Regions from separate parts of the Homo sapiens genome. Here regions 1, 3 and 4 are each linked to region 2. Evidence: promoter capture Hi-C in 16 types of primary human blood cells and fetal thymus (Javierre and others, 2016). All regions are on one chromosome and are shown on one strand. Each heading gives the region's core, a stretch centred on a gene start or on the middle of the fragment in contact. The rest is flanking DNA. Distances are from core to core; before and after follow the strand shown.

Evidence for each region. Contacts are between HindIII fragments. The CHiCAGO score rates a contact against its expected background, and 5 or more counts as called.
Region 1: a contact is called between a fragment that was not itself captured here and the fragment with the promoter of OTOG in region 2, in 1 of 17 cell types (naive CD4 T cells). The highest score is 5.1, in naive CD4 T cells.
Region 3: a fragment that was not itself captured here is called in contact with the fragment with the promoter of OTOG in region 2 in 1 of 17 cell types (M2 macrophages); the score reaches 5.1 in M2 macrophages.
Region 4: a contact is called between a fragment that was not itself captured here and the fragment with the promoter of OTOG in region 2, in 2 of 17 cell types (M1 macrophages and M2 macrophages). The highest score is 5.6, in M1 macrophages.

Annotation. Positions count from the first base shown.
Region 1 is chr11:17,158,425-17,161,526 of GRCh38, forward strand. All of the region lies in intron 2 of PIK3C2A (phosphatidylinositol-4-phosphate 3-kinase catalytic subunit type 2 alpha), which reads right to left. Among named protein-coding and RNA genes, the nearest start is that of PIK3C2A, 48 kb to the right of the region's middle. The HindIII fragment of the contact is 3,000 bases long and covers 264-3,102 here.
Region 2 is chr11:17,545,620-17,548,557 of GRCh38, forward strand. It overlaps OTOG (otogelin), which reads left to right and starts at 1,640. Exons shown (of 56, transcript NM_001292063.2): 1 at 1,640-1,847; 2 at 2,308-2,368; 3 at 2,533-2,593. The coding sequence starts at 1,754. The HindIII fragment of the contact is 7,774 bases long and covers 594-2,938 here.
Region 3 is chr11:17,242,305-17,245,353 of GRCh38, forward strand. No RefSeq gene overlaps it. Among named protein-coding and RNA genes, the nearest start is that of NUCB2, 33 kb to the right of the region's middle. The HindIII fragment of the contact is 2,198 bases long and covers 486-2,683 here.
Region 4 is chr11:17,976,405-17,979,377 of GRCh38, forward strand. The region is part of intron 8 of SERGEF (secretion regulating guanine nucleotide exchange factor); the gene reads right to left. Among named protein-coding and RNA genes, the nearest start is that of SERGEF, 35 kb to the right of the region's middle. The HindIII fragment of the contact is 478 bases long and covers 1,146-1,623 here.

The DNA.
Region 1 (3,102 bases), core at 514-3,013, 390 kb before region 2:
ATCAAAAAAGCTCTAATAGGTGGGAACTATTATTACTCCCATTTTATGGAAAAAATGAGGCACAGATGAGTTAATTAACTCACAAGGTCATACAGCTAATATAGGCAGAGTGTGAATTTCAACCCAGGCAGTCTGGCTTCAATGTCACATGCTTAATCACCATGCTAATCTGTCTCTCAAAAGAATATCCTTAAAAATCCTTAAAAACACAATGTGAAAAACAACGTTGTGACCTTTGTGGGAGCAGTGCTGGGAAAACCTAAAGCTTTGCTTGACCCAAGAATCATCTTTCCCTGAAGAACTGTTCTTCATGTTTTACTTATTTTAAAAACAGATTCTGAATCTCCTTAGGTGGCATTTTAGGATTTAAAAAAAATAATAATAGTTGTATTTTTTGCTGTGTCTCTCGTGAATTAGGTCTTTCCTTTTATTCAAGTTACGAGTTTGAATTAACAAAAACTGAATATAATAATTATCTAGTCACACATCAAGGTAATAATAGAATCTGGAAAGTTAACTCAAATGTTAAAGTCTGTAAAGGGTAAAAAATAGCTAGGCTGCCAATATTTCACCTCAAACATTAACAGTTTTGGGTTTTTCCCTCTGCTCTTTCTGGAATAAAAAATACATATATTTTACACCTATTCCCTTCACCCATACTCCCACCCCACTTCCAAACTCCACACAAACAAACCAAAGCATCAAATCATCTCTTTTCTCCATGGATCTTGCACAGACTTTTCTTCTGTGGCACTCAAGACTTTCTATTTTGTACTGCATTTATACACATTCACATCTTGTCTCCCCTTTCTAGCCCAAGTTCTTTAATGGTGAAGTCCACAAATGATTAGTATGTGCAATCCTCACACTGTATAACCACACACATTTTTTAACAAATGAAAGAGATATATGATAATCAATAAGAAAACACTGCCAATGCATTAGCCAATACCTGGAACAAAGAAAGAAGTTTGCAGGGGAAGATACAAAGTTCTCTAGTAAATATGTTGTGTTTGAAAATCCATGTAGATGTTTAGGTCATCGTCTAGAAATGTTCTACTCCAGAAATATTCTATTCCAGAGCTAGAAACAAAGATTTAGTGATCATCCAATTTCTGTAATTTTTTACAGGGAACTCACTCTCTCTGTTAACTGCTGTCAGCATCCATCAGGATCACTGAGACAGCAAATTCTCAGTCAGTAGTCTTTGGGTCAAGCTCCATTAAGAGGAAACAGTCTCTTTGGGAAGCTAAAGGAGACATAAGGGCCTGTATCTGTGAGGCACAGAACTGGGACATCTCTTTATTTTCGTATATATGGAATGGCTTATGCAATTATGAGCTGACAAGTCTCCAGATCTGCAGCTGGCAAGCTGGAGACAAAGGAGAGCAATGGTGCAGTTGCAGAACGCAGGAAGGGCCAATGCTTCTGTTTTAGTCCAAAGGTAGGAAAAAAATTGATGTTCCAGCTTCAAAGCAGTCAAGCAGGAGGAGTTTCCCCCTTACTTTTGGGAGGGTCATTCTGCAGGCCTTCAACTAATTGGATGAGGCTCACTCACATTAAGCAGGGAATTTGCTTTATCCAGCTGACCAATTCAAACATTAATCTGACCCAAAAACACGCTCATAGAAATACCCAGAATAATGTCTGATCAGATATCTGGACACCTCATGGCCTAGTCAAGCTGAAACATAAAATTAACCATCACAGCATCTCGAGCATAGACAGCCAAGGAGTCACATTACTACAAGGGTCTAGATCAGTAGCTTTCAATTTAAGTAAATTGGAGCCTCAAGAATAAAGCACTGGCCAAGGGAAAACAAGTAAAGCATTATTAAAAACAACCAAGAACAAAACCTTTGGAGGAATGCCTATGTTTAAAGGCTAGACAAAGAAAAAGGAGTCAAAAATCACAGGAAGAAAAATAGGAAGTAGATTTACCCAGGGCAACAGAAGTTTCAAGAAAAGGATGTAGTCAATTTTTAAAAAATAAGCAAAAGGGCTAAATGGTGAATATGGTCGAGGGATTGGCAATTCTATAACATAATGGGAATAACAGAAGGAGAGCAAGAGACTGGAAAGGCAGTGAGTACAAATTCCTTTTTAAAGAGTAATAACTTTAAGGACAGGTGTGGTAGCTCATATCTGTAATCCTAGCACTTTGGGAGGCAGGTGGATAGCTCTAGTCCAGGAGATGGAGACCAGCCTAGGCAACATAGTGAAACCCCATCTCTACACAATATACAAAACTTAGCTAGGTATGATGGCATGCCCCTGTAGTCCCAGCTACTCAGGAGGTTGAGGCAGGAGGATGGCTCGAACCCAGGAGACAGAGGTTGCAGTTAGCCGAGGTTGCACCATTACACTCTAGCCTGGATGACAGAGCAAGACCCTGCCTTAACAAAACCAAACCAAAACAAAACAAACAAACAAACAGTAATAACTTTGGGGAAGACAGGAACAAACAGGAACAAAAAAAACAGTTAAGTTTTGGAAAAGGGAAGGAACATCTCTTCCTTTCAAACCAGAAAGATGAGGGAAATGTGAGGTGAGCAGTTCACACATGGATGGCCTTGACCTCAATTTAAAAGAAAAAAAATGGTAGAGAGTTGGCAGAGGTGAGTTTGGAGGTTTAAGGAAAGTGGTGAAGGTTTAAAATAATTCACAAAAATTTATCATTAATACTCTGTAAAGTAGTTACAAGAATATGGGGAAGATTTATACCTATACAAGTTCAAGGTTCATGCCACATTACCCAGAAATTATATGGAACACAACACCAAGTTTTCAATAAATGCACTTTAAACATTAAATACATATTACTTTTCAGAAGAAAGTTGGTTACATCCTTAATTGGACTTTTTCCCAAAGAAACTTATATTTACTGTTCAAATATACTCAGTCAGACTATGAAAATCACATTTTGTTTAACTTTTGCTCTTCTTTAAAATTAATAATAGACATTTTGCCAATGGGGATATGTTTAAAATGTTAATACAATTAACTTTTAGAAAGAGTTTACAACCAAAGAACTTTGCAAAGCCACCTCTATGACAATAATTTGATCTATTATAAAATTCTTTGAAATCTGCTCAAAGTAGT
Region 2 (2,938 bases), core at 390-2,889:
TAAGTATGGGGCTTGTGCCTGAACTTAACCCAGGGAGGCACCTGAGCCCTTTGTGCCCTGTCAAGGGCAGGGGCAAGGAGATGGACAGCAGCTTACATCAGGTAACCACTTACAATTGTAACTCTGGGGCACCTAAACACCCCTCTGCGTCCCTCTCCCCAATAGCTGAAGTTTTACAAGCACACTATTTTTGTTGCCTAGTTTAAGATGTAAATCCCTCTTGGAGAAGAACCTTAAAATATGATCTGTTTTCTCACCTTAGCATTAACTATTAAGTCAGCGATAAAATGGAAAGACTTGTGGGATTTTTGAATGGTCCAGAAAAGGCCACACAAAATGCATTCCCCTCCGACTTACTTCATTGATTCTCTACATTGGAAAAGAATGTCATATGGCTGTTTATTTTGTATTTAGAATCCTGGCAGAGGTGAATGAATGTCCTTATCCAGGGGAATGCTGTTCACCTGCCACACCAATCCTTATTTTACATTGGCCATTACCCCCACAGACTCCCTCCACCTTAAAATGCCCCCTGCTTTGTTTTGAGAATAGCATTGAGACCTGGTTCTCCTCTCTCATGAATTTTTGTTTCAAGCTTCCTTGGAGACAATCAGTCTTTGCCTGTTCCTTAACCAGCATTCCTTAAGGCTCCATCCTTAGCTCTTTCCTCTTCATCTTCCTATCTGTGCCCCCAGCTTCCTCCTGTGTGAAGATAGCTGTGTTTGCTTTATTTACCACTATATGCCTAGAACAGTGCATGGCATGGAATCAATGCCAAACAAATTTGTTGAGTGAATGAATGAATGAATGAATGAATGAATGCATCTCAAATCTATACCCTTGCCTAGAAGTCTACTGGGGCCAATACCACCACGACCACCACCACCACCATCATCATCATCCTCTGTAAGACCTAGCATCTAGTTGGTGTTCCCTAAGTGATGACGAAGTGAATGATGTACAGATTCCCCAGGTGCTCAGTCCCATGTTTTTGCCATTTTAAAATTCCTCCTGGGCAGACAGTGGACCTCGTTCACACATATAAAGTTGTTTTGTCAAAGTTTGGCCTTGATGGTGGCAATAACATAGGAGTATGAAACACTTTTATTATTCAATCGTCATTTCCTGAGCTCGGGCAGGAGCTGGTGCTGGGCATTCAGAGGACTAAGGCATGATCCATTCCCTAGAGGTGCTCAAAACTGGTCATAGGATACGGATGTGGAGACCCAGGTGGAAGCTGAGGTGGGGCATGGTGAGAACATAGGCTAGGACTCTGCAGGCTCTGTTATTGACCACTGATCCCTGAGTGGCATGTCCCAGGGCCTCAGCATGGCCCTCTGTAAAAGGAGAGGATAGGGCCAGACTCATACCTGCATCTTGCGTCTCTGGTATTGGGCTTCCAGGACCCAGGTAAGGGGAGCTGGAGGTTGCATAGGCTGCCTCTATGCTTCCCTAGACAATTTAGGGCTGAGTAATCTGAATCCAGCCTCCCCTGGGGAGGTGTGGCCACAGGCCAAGAAAAGCAGAGGCTAGGCTATGGACAGGCGCCTAAATTATGGTAATAAGCTGGGTACTCCTGTCACTCTAGTTCGGGGAGGAGCTGAGAGCCTGGGAGGAGGGGCTGAGGGAGCCCTGGGGCATGAGAACAAGAGGGACCTCGGCTGCGGAGTGGAGGTGTGACCCTGCCTTAGCCCGGGGAGGCACCTCGGGAGGCTGGCCCTGCGCTCAAGTCCTCCGGTCCCCTCGTGTCCCTATGGGAGTCCTGGCGTCTGCGCTCTGCTGGCTGCTTTGTGTCTGGCTGCCCTGGGGTGAGCAGGCAGCCGAGTCCCTGCGGGTGCAGCGCCTCGGTGAGAGGGTTGTGGACTCAGGGAGGTCGGGGGCTCGAGGAATGAGAAACGTTAAAGGAATGAGGAATGGGCCCGCGCAGGTTGGAGAGAGGGAGGAAAGAGAGGTTTGAGGGAGAGCAGAGGGACACCCAGGAGGAGCAGTCAGGGGAGGAGGGACCCCGAAGCCAACAGAGGCAGGCCTATGACCGCGGGGGAAAGAGTCCAAAGTTAGGCTGGGTGGAAGAGACCCGAGGTGGGGAACTAGAGAGAGCTGGGGGCCAAAGACTGAGAGTAAACAGGGAGATCCTGGCTGGAGAAGGGTCATCAGGAAGGGAGAGAAAGGATTTGAGAAGGCTGCAGGGAGGGAGAATGGGGGAATGCTCAGTGGCGTGGGAGAGGCTTTCTAGCAGTGGGGGCCAGGTGGTGGGAGGCCCCAGTAAAGACAAGCACAATTTGAGTGGAGAATAATCCCCCTCCCCAGCCGCAGCACCCGTTCTGTGGGGCAGTGCAGAGCCACAGCCAGAGCCAGCCGGGCAACCCAGGTGAGTAGGTGTGAGCTGTGGCGGCCCCACCCACAGCTCCCATCCGTATTTCTGGCATCAGCGACCCCAGGGCTTTAGCACTTAGGGTGGGATAGGCCAGGGGACTGCGGGGAGGCATAACCCATCCTAGCCCCCCATCCATGCCAGACTCGTGTTTCCTCCAGCAGCAGCCACCAGGAGGCGACCCTTGCCATGGGGGACAAGGCTACAGTCGTGGGAGGCCAGGTAAGGGAGGTCTTGGGAGGGGGCTTCATTGAGCAGGAGCTCATGTCTATCTGGATCTGAGGCTGGCAGGGAGCTCTGTAGGTTACAGGAGGGGTCTCTGGAGTTGTTCAGAAAGGAACAAGCAGATTCCTGGTATGTGTCTGAGGTGTGCAAGTTCATAAAACCCTTCTATTCTTTTTAATCTCTTGGGGGTCTATAGTCCACTCTTTTTTTTTTTTTTTTTTTTTTTTTTTTTTTTTTTTTTAGGAGAGGTGGGCACCAGGGCTCTTTCAGGAGAGAGCTGAGCTCTCCCTTCTGGCAGGTAAAAGTAGAAAGATGGACGTTTAGAAGAATGGAGTTCTCTTT
Region 3 (3,049 bases), core at 335-2,834, 300 kb before region 2:
GGTTGCAGTGGGCTGAGATCATGCCACTGCACTCCAGCCTGGGGCAACAGAGCGACAGTGTCTAAAAAATAAAAAATAATTTAAAAAAGAAAGAAAATGAATGGATTATGTGAAACTTAGTTATAGACAAGATTAAAATTCATCTGTAATCTTTAGATGAATGGTGTTATATGAGAATAAAGTACAATGTGTCAGAAGAAACAATTACCACTGTGCTAATAAACTATCACTTAATTACAAAAATAAAATCCTTCAAGTCCTCAAACTTGCCACTGTGGTTTTTCCTCTCACAAAGGAAATCCTGTTATAATTCTTAAATCCAAATGAAGGCATTTTAATATTCCCTTTTCCTGCAAGCTAAATGTCTTATTGAATTATAAAACAGAAAATTTTCATCTCAGAAAGTTTTACTCAATTTTTTGTATCCCCCAAATAATGCTTAAAGCTGTTCAAAGTTTTAATTATTACAAAACACTTAAGATAAAAGCTTGTAATCCCTCAAAGCAAATCACAACAAATCCAAGGGCTTTCTTTTCTTCAAAGGGAACTGTCTAAATAAAGGGGGAAAACTGTGTAATAAGCTAAGCATAATATTGTTGGCTGCTTCATAATAACCAACAGGCACACAATGGCTTGGGGCCTAGCAAGCAACAAAGAATAATTCTTCATCACATAGTCTTCACTTTGATTTCAGCTAGATGTCTGACCATGGTGAACCAGTTTATCAACATTAGCCTCCCTTTTCTTCCCTGTAAAATGAGGGATTGGTTCCAAGTCTTTGCTATTGTGAATAGTGCCACAATGATAGACTGGATTAAGAAAATGTGGCACATAGACACCATGGAATACTATGCAGCCATAAAAAAGGATGAATTCATGTCCTTTGTAGGGACATGGATGAAGCTGGAAACCATCATTCTCAGCAAACTACCGCAAGGACAAAAAACCAAACACCGCATGTTCTCACTCATAGGTGGGAATTGAACAATGAGAACACATGGACACAGGAAGGGGAACATCGCACACTGGGGACGGTTGTGGGGTGGAGGGAGCGGGGAGGGATAGTGTTAGGAGATATACCTAATGTTAAATGACGAGTTAATGGGTGCAGCACACCAACATGGCACATGTATACATATGTAACAAACCTGCACGTTGTGCATATGTACCCTAAAACTTAAAGTATAATAATAATAAAAACAAACAAACAAAACAAAACATTGAGTTAAAAAAAAATGAGGGATTGGACTAGCTGGTACCTAGTCCCCACATTTCATTGATTCAGTAAAAGCCTGCTTTTGATTTTGAGAGCATCAAAAACTATTTACCATCAAAAAGAGCATCGAAAAATAAGAGCGGACCCAAGAGGTGAAGCAACTCTCCCCTGGTTACACAGAAGCAGAGCTAGGATTAAACTCCAAGGTGTCTGACTTCCAGGACAGGAGCATTTTCCATAATGTCATGCGGCTTGAAATTCTTTCCAGAGATGAGCTTTCCTGCTATATGTATGAAATTGTAACCAAAATAAACATAAACTACATAAAACATTAAGCTAACATAACTTCTTCTTTCTTTTTTTTTTTTTTTTTTTTTTTGAGACAGGTTCTCATTCTGTCACCCAGGCTGGAGTGCAGTGGCACGATCTCAGCTCACTGCAACATCTGCCTCCTGGGTTCAAATGATTCTCCTGCCTCAGCCTCCCGAGTAGCTGGGATTACAGGCATGCACCACCATGCCCAGCTAATTTTTGTACTTTTAGTAGAGACAGGGTTTCACCATGTTGGCCAGGCTGGTCATAACATAACTTCTTCTAAGGAAATGATTATTTCCCTGGGTGGCTTAATATAAGTCATAAGTAACTGATTGTGGTCAGAAGTGTGGATGTAATTATTTCTAGGGAACCACATGAAAGCAGGTCAAGTTCTCATACACAGCAAAAATGCCTGTTTTCAAGACCAAGCAGTACTGATCCTCTTGGTATACGAGTGACCTGTGAGCAGAGACCATGCCTGGCCCATCTGTGTAGTTAGCAAGGCAGGTATTCTGCACCTTGGAGATCATCCCATGAGTGTAGGGCCTGGGAGCAGGACTGAGGCAAAGGAGTTGGCTCAAGCATTAGGGAGGGGCATCTCCGGAAGACAAGGCAGGTATGGAAGGAGATCTTATAATAGTAGCCAAACATAAATCAGTCCTGTGCATAGGCACATGAGTAGAAATGTCAGGTATCCTCAACCATAGTTCCACACAACTCGGGGATGAGGAAGGGAACTGTAGAGAAAAGAAACCCCATCTGTGTTTTCTAAATATATTATATCCCTCCCCACCCTTCTTCCTTTGAGAAAGTTTTAAAGTTATTATATATTTAACATTAGTGTATCTGAACATATTACTAGAAAAGGGATAAACTGCATGACAAAATGACTCATTTAAAAATTTCTATGATTTCTATATTTATGTAATATTTATATAACGCTTAGTAGTGCCAGGCACTGTTATAAGTACTTGCAAATAAATATTAAGTCATTTAATCATTTTAAGAACTCTATGGTAAGTAACCTATTATCTCTATTTTACAAATGAGGAAACTGAGGCACAGAGAGATAAGTAAATTGCCTGAGGACATATGGCTAGTAAGGAGCAGAGCCTAGGCGGTTTGCTCCTGATTCTATGCTCCTAACCACCAAGCTTCACTTTCTCCTTGAGAAAGGACTACAAAGGAAGTGGTAAGAGTGGGCATTTCTCCCTTTGCTGCTCAGCTTCTTTTTTTTTTTTTTTTTTTTTTTTGAGACAGGAGTCTCGCTCTGTCACCCAGGCTGGAGTGCAGTGGTACAATCTCAGCTCACTGCAACCTGCGGCTCCTGGGTTCAAGTGATTCTCCAGCCTCATCCTCCTGAGAAGCTGGGACTACAGGTGCGGGCCACCACATCCGGCTTTTTTTTTTTTTCTTTTTTTTCAGTAGAGACGGGTTTCATCATGTTGTCCAGGCTGGTCTCGAACTCCTGACCTCAGGTGATCCGCCCGCCTTGGCATCCCAAAAGTTGGGATTACA
Region 4 (2,973 bases), core at 135-2,634, 430 kb after region 2:
CCTCCCGAGTAGATGGGACTACAGGCATGCACCACCACCTCGGCTAATTTTCATTTTTTTTTTTTTTTTTTTTTTTTAGCAGAGATGGGATTTCACCATATTGGCCAGGCTGGTCTCAAACTCCTGACCTCGTGATCCACCCGCCTTGGCCTCCCAAAGTGCTGGGATTACATGAGTGAGCCACCGTGCCTGGCTGTCACTGTGATTATTGAGAGCACCCATGGGATAGGCAAGGTCCCCTGAGAAAGGGCAAGCAGAGTGCCATCTGCCAAAAACCTAAAAATGATGGCAAAATTACAGGCCAGTAACTAAATGCTTACTTTTAGAGAGCTCCTGGAACAAATCAATCTCCATCAGGAAAGAGGAAGATTCTTTGAATGGAAACTGAGCTCTCTGCCAGGGACCTCTACACCCTTCCCAGAACCATCTGGTGAGCTTGCAGCATGGCTGGTCACCCCACTCACTATGGACAGATGGGGAAGCCAAGGTCTCAAGGCAAGGCCTTGCAGATAGGCAGGAGCAAAGCTGGTCTTAAAACGCTGGGGCATCAGGCATCACTGTCAGCCTCAGGGAGCTGAGGCTCTGTGGCCTGGGCTTCTCCAAGAAGGTAGGAAGAGGGCAGGGCCAGCTACAGGCTGTATCTCCTGAACACAGCCATTGGAAATAGCATCACTTCCACATCCAAAAGTTCTACCCATCCCATGCCACCAGCACTCGAGTCTCTCGTCTATAGTTGGAGAAATCCAGGGATGAATAAAGCAGACCAAGTCCCTAACCTTGTGGGGCTCACATTCGGTTAGGAGAGAATGACAACAAATAAGTAAACATATAATGACACTATGGTTTCAGGCAATGAAAACTGCTATAATGAAAAATAACACAGTGAAGGGAATAGAGTGTAAGAGGTGACATTTGGACAAGAACCAATGGAAGTGAGGCAGTAGCTATGCAGGAATCACAGAGACGAGCATTCCTGGAAGAAAGAACTGCTAGAACACAGGCACAGAGGGGAAAGGTATTTAACCATTTCTCAGTGGGCTTTATACCACCAGCCACCACTCCCTAACCTGCTCCAATAAATACCTGCCCTTTCCTGCTTCAAAGGCCTCCTCCCTCTGGCAGTTCACCACCATAACTCCCCCAGAAGCTTTCTCCAGGAAGGAGAGACAAAATATCTGTTGCCCCCTCCCTAAAGCCTAAAGGGCTGCTACAGACTGAATGGTTGTGTCCCCATCAAATTCATATGTTGAAATCCTAACCCTTAATATTATGGAGACAAGGCCTGTGGGAGGTGATGAGGTCATGAAGGTAGGGCCCTCATGAATGGGATCATTGGCCTTATAAAAGAAACCCCAGAGAGCTCCTTTACTTCTTCTGCCATGTGAGGCACAGCAAAAAGGTGAGAGTCTATGAACCAGGAGGCAGGTCATCACCAGACACCAAATCTTCTGGTATTTTGATTAGGACTTCCCAGCCTCCAGAACTGTAAGACATAGGTTTCTATTGTTTATAAGCCACCCAGTCTATATCACTTGGTATAGCAGCCTGAATGGAATAAGATAGTCAATTGCTACATTTCCCATAAGGTCACCTTGAGAGGAAGTGGCATGATGAAATAAAATAAGCTTTGATATCAAACACAGCAGGATTCAAGTGTCTGCTTTGCTTTCTAACTAGCTATGGTACTTTATACAAGCCACTTAGCCTCTCTGAGCCTCAATCCTCACCTAGAATGAAGGGAAATGAACCCTACCTTAAGGGGCTACAGCAGTATTACCCTCAGGCTGTAGAGCAGTACCTGGCAGAGCACCTAGTACATAGTAAGTACTTGGCAAACACTGGCTCCCTGCCCTAACCTGATCCCCTTGGAAATTAAAAAAAAAAAAATGTTCTTATTCAACCAATTGTGCTAACTCATGTCTTCAGCATGTCTCTGGCAAGGCCCTGGGCCTGCCCATCTGTGGGGTATAGGACTTAAGAGATGACCCCTAATTCTATCCATTGCACAGTGTGATGGGAAGCCTTGGTCCAGAGAACTGAGGAGGAGAACTGGACAGGGCAGAGGCGAGCAGAAAAGATGTGCACATTGCTTTTGCTGTGAGTGAGAAGGTGAAAAATCATTAAGACCAGGCCCTTGAAGAAATCAGGAAAAAGGCAGACAGTTAACTGCCACTGCCAGGTCCTCTCCCACAGCTGGCTCACTGGCCCTTGTCCCCTGGATCTCCATGGGGCAGCCAGCTAGAGGTCAGATCCATATCAGTTCCTGTTAAGAGCAAGGACTATCAGCTATTAACTCAGGGTGTGTCCTTATGCAAGACCCTTTCCCTTTCTGGGCCTAGGTTCTCCCATCCATACAAAAACAGGGAAGGCCTGGGTGACCTCCAGGGGCCCTTTCAGCTCTGACCTTACTAATTCCGAATGATGACTCTACCAGCCTCATCCCAAGGCTAGCTGGCTGCCTACTGCTGCCATCTGGTGGCCCTGCAGGCCCAGCCCCTTGTCGAATACACCCACTTCAGAGGGTGACTCCTGCTTCTGCTTCAGGTGCACACATGCTACACTTCTCTAGACCACAGATCAATGGGTATTCACAGCCAAACACAAAATCCAAATATAATGATAACGCTTCATCTCTCTAGCAGAGATGACACAGCTGCAGCTGAGAACATGACCTCCCTTCTCAAAGACAGAAGGTAACCTGCATAAGATCACAGAGCTGCCTGGTTCCCAGGCCAGTACACGGTTTCACTTTGCCACAATGCTTAGGGCTGGTGGGTACCTGCAAACCAAAAATAAAGTCAGCCTAGAGCCAAGGAACAAAGCTGTTTGAAGGTGGGGAAAAAACTGCCAGGATTCCTCGCAAACCTCAAGAAATAGTAAGGCATGGCACGTGAACAGGCTGAGCACTGCTTGCAGAAATTAACTGGAAATACAAACTTGGGGTATCCAATGTATCTCCCTAATCTTGGAGGT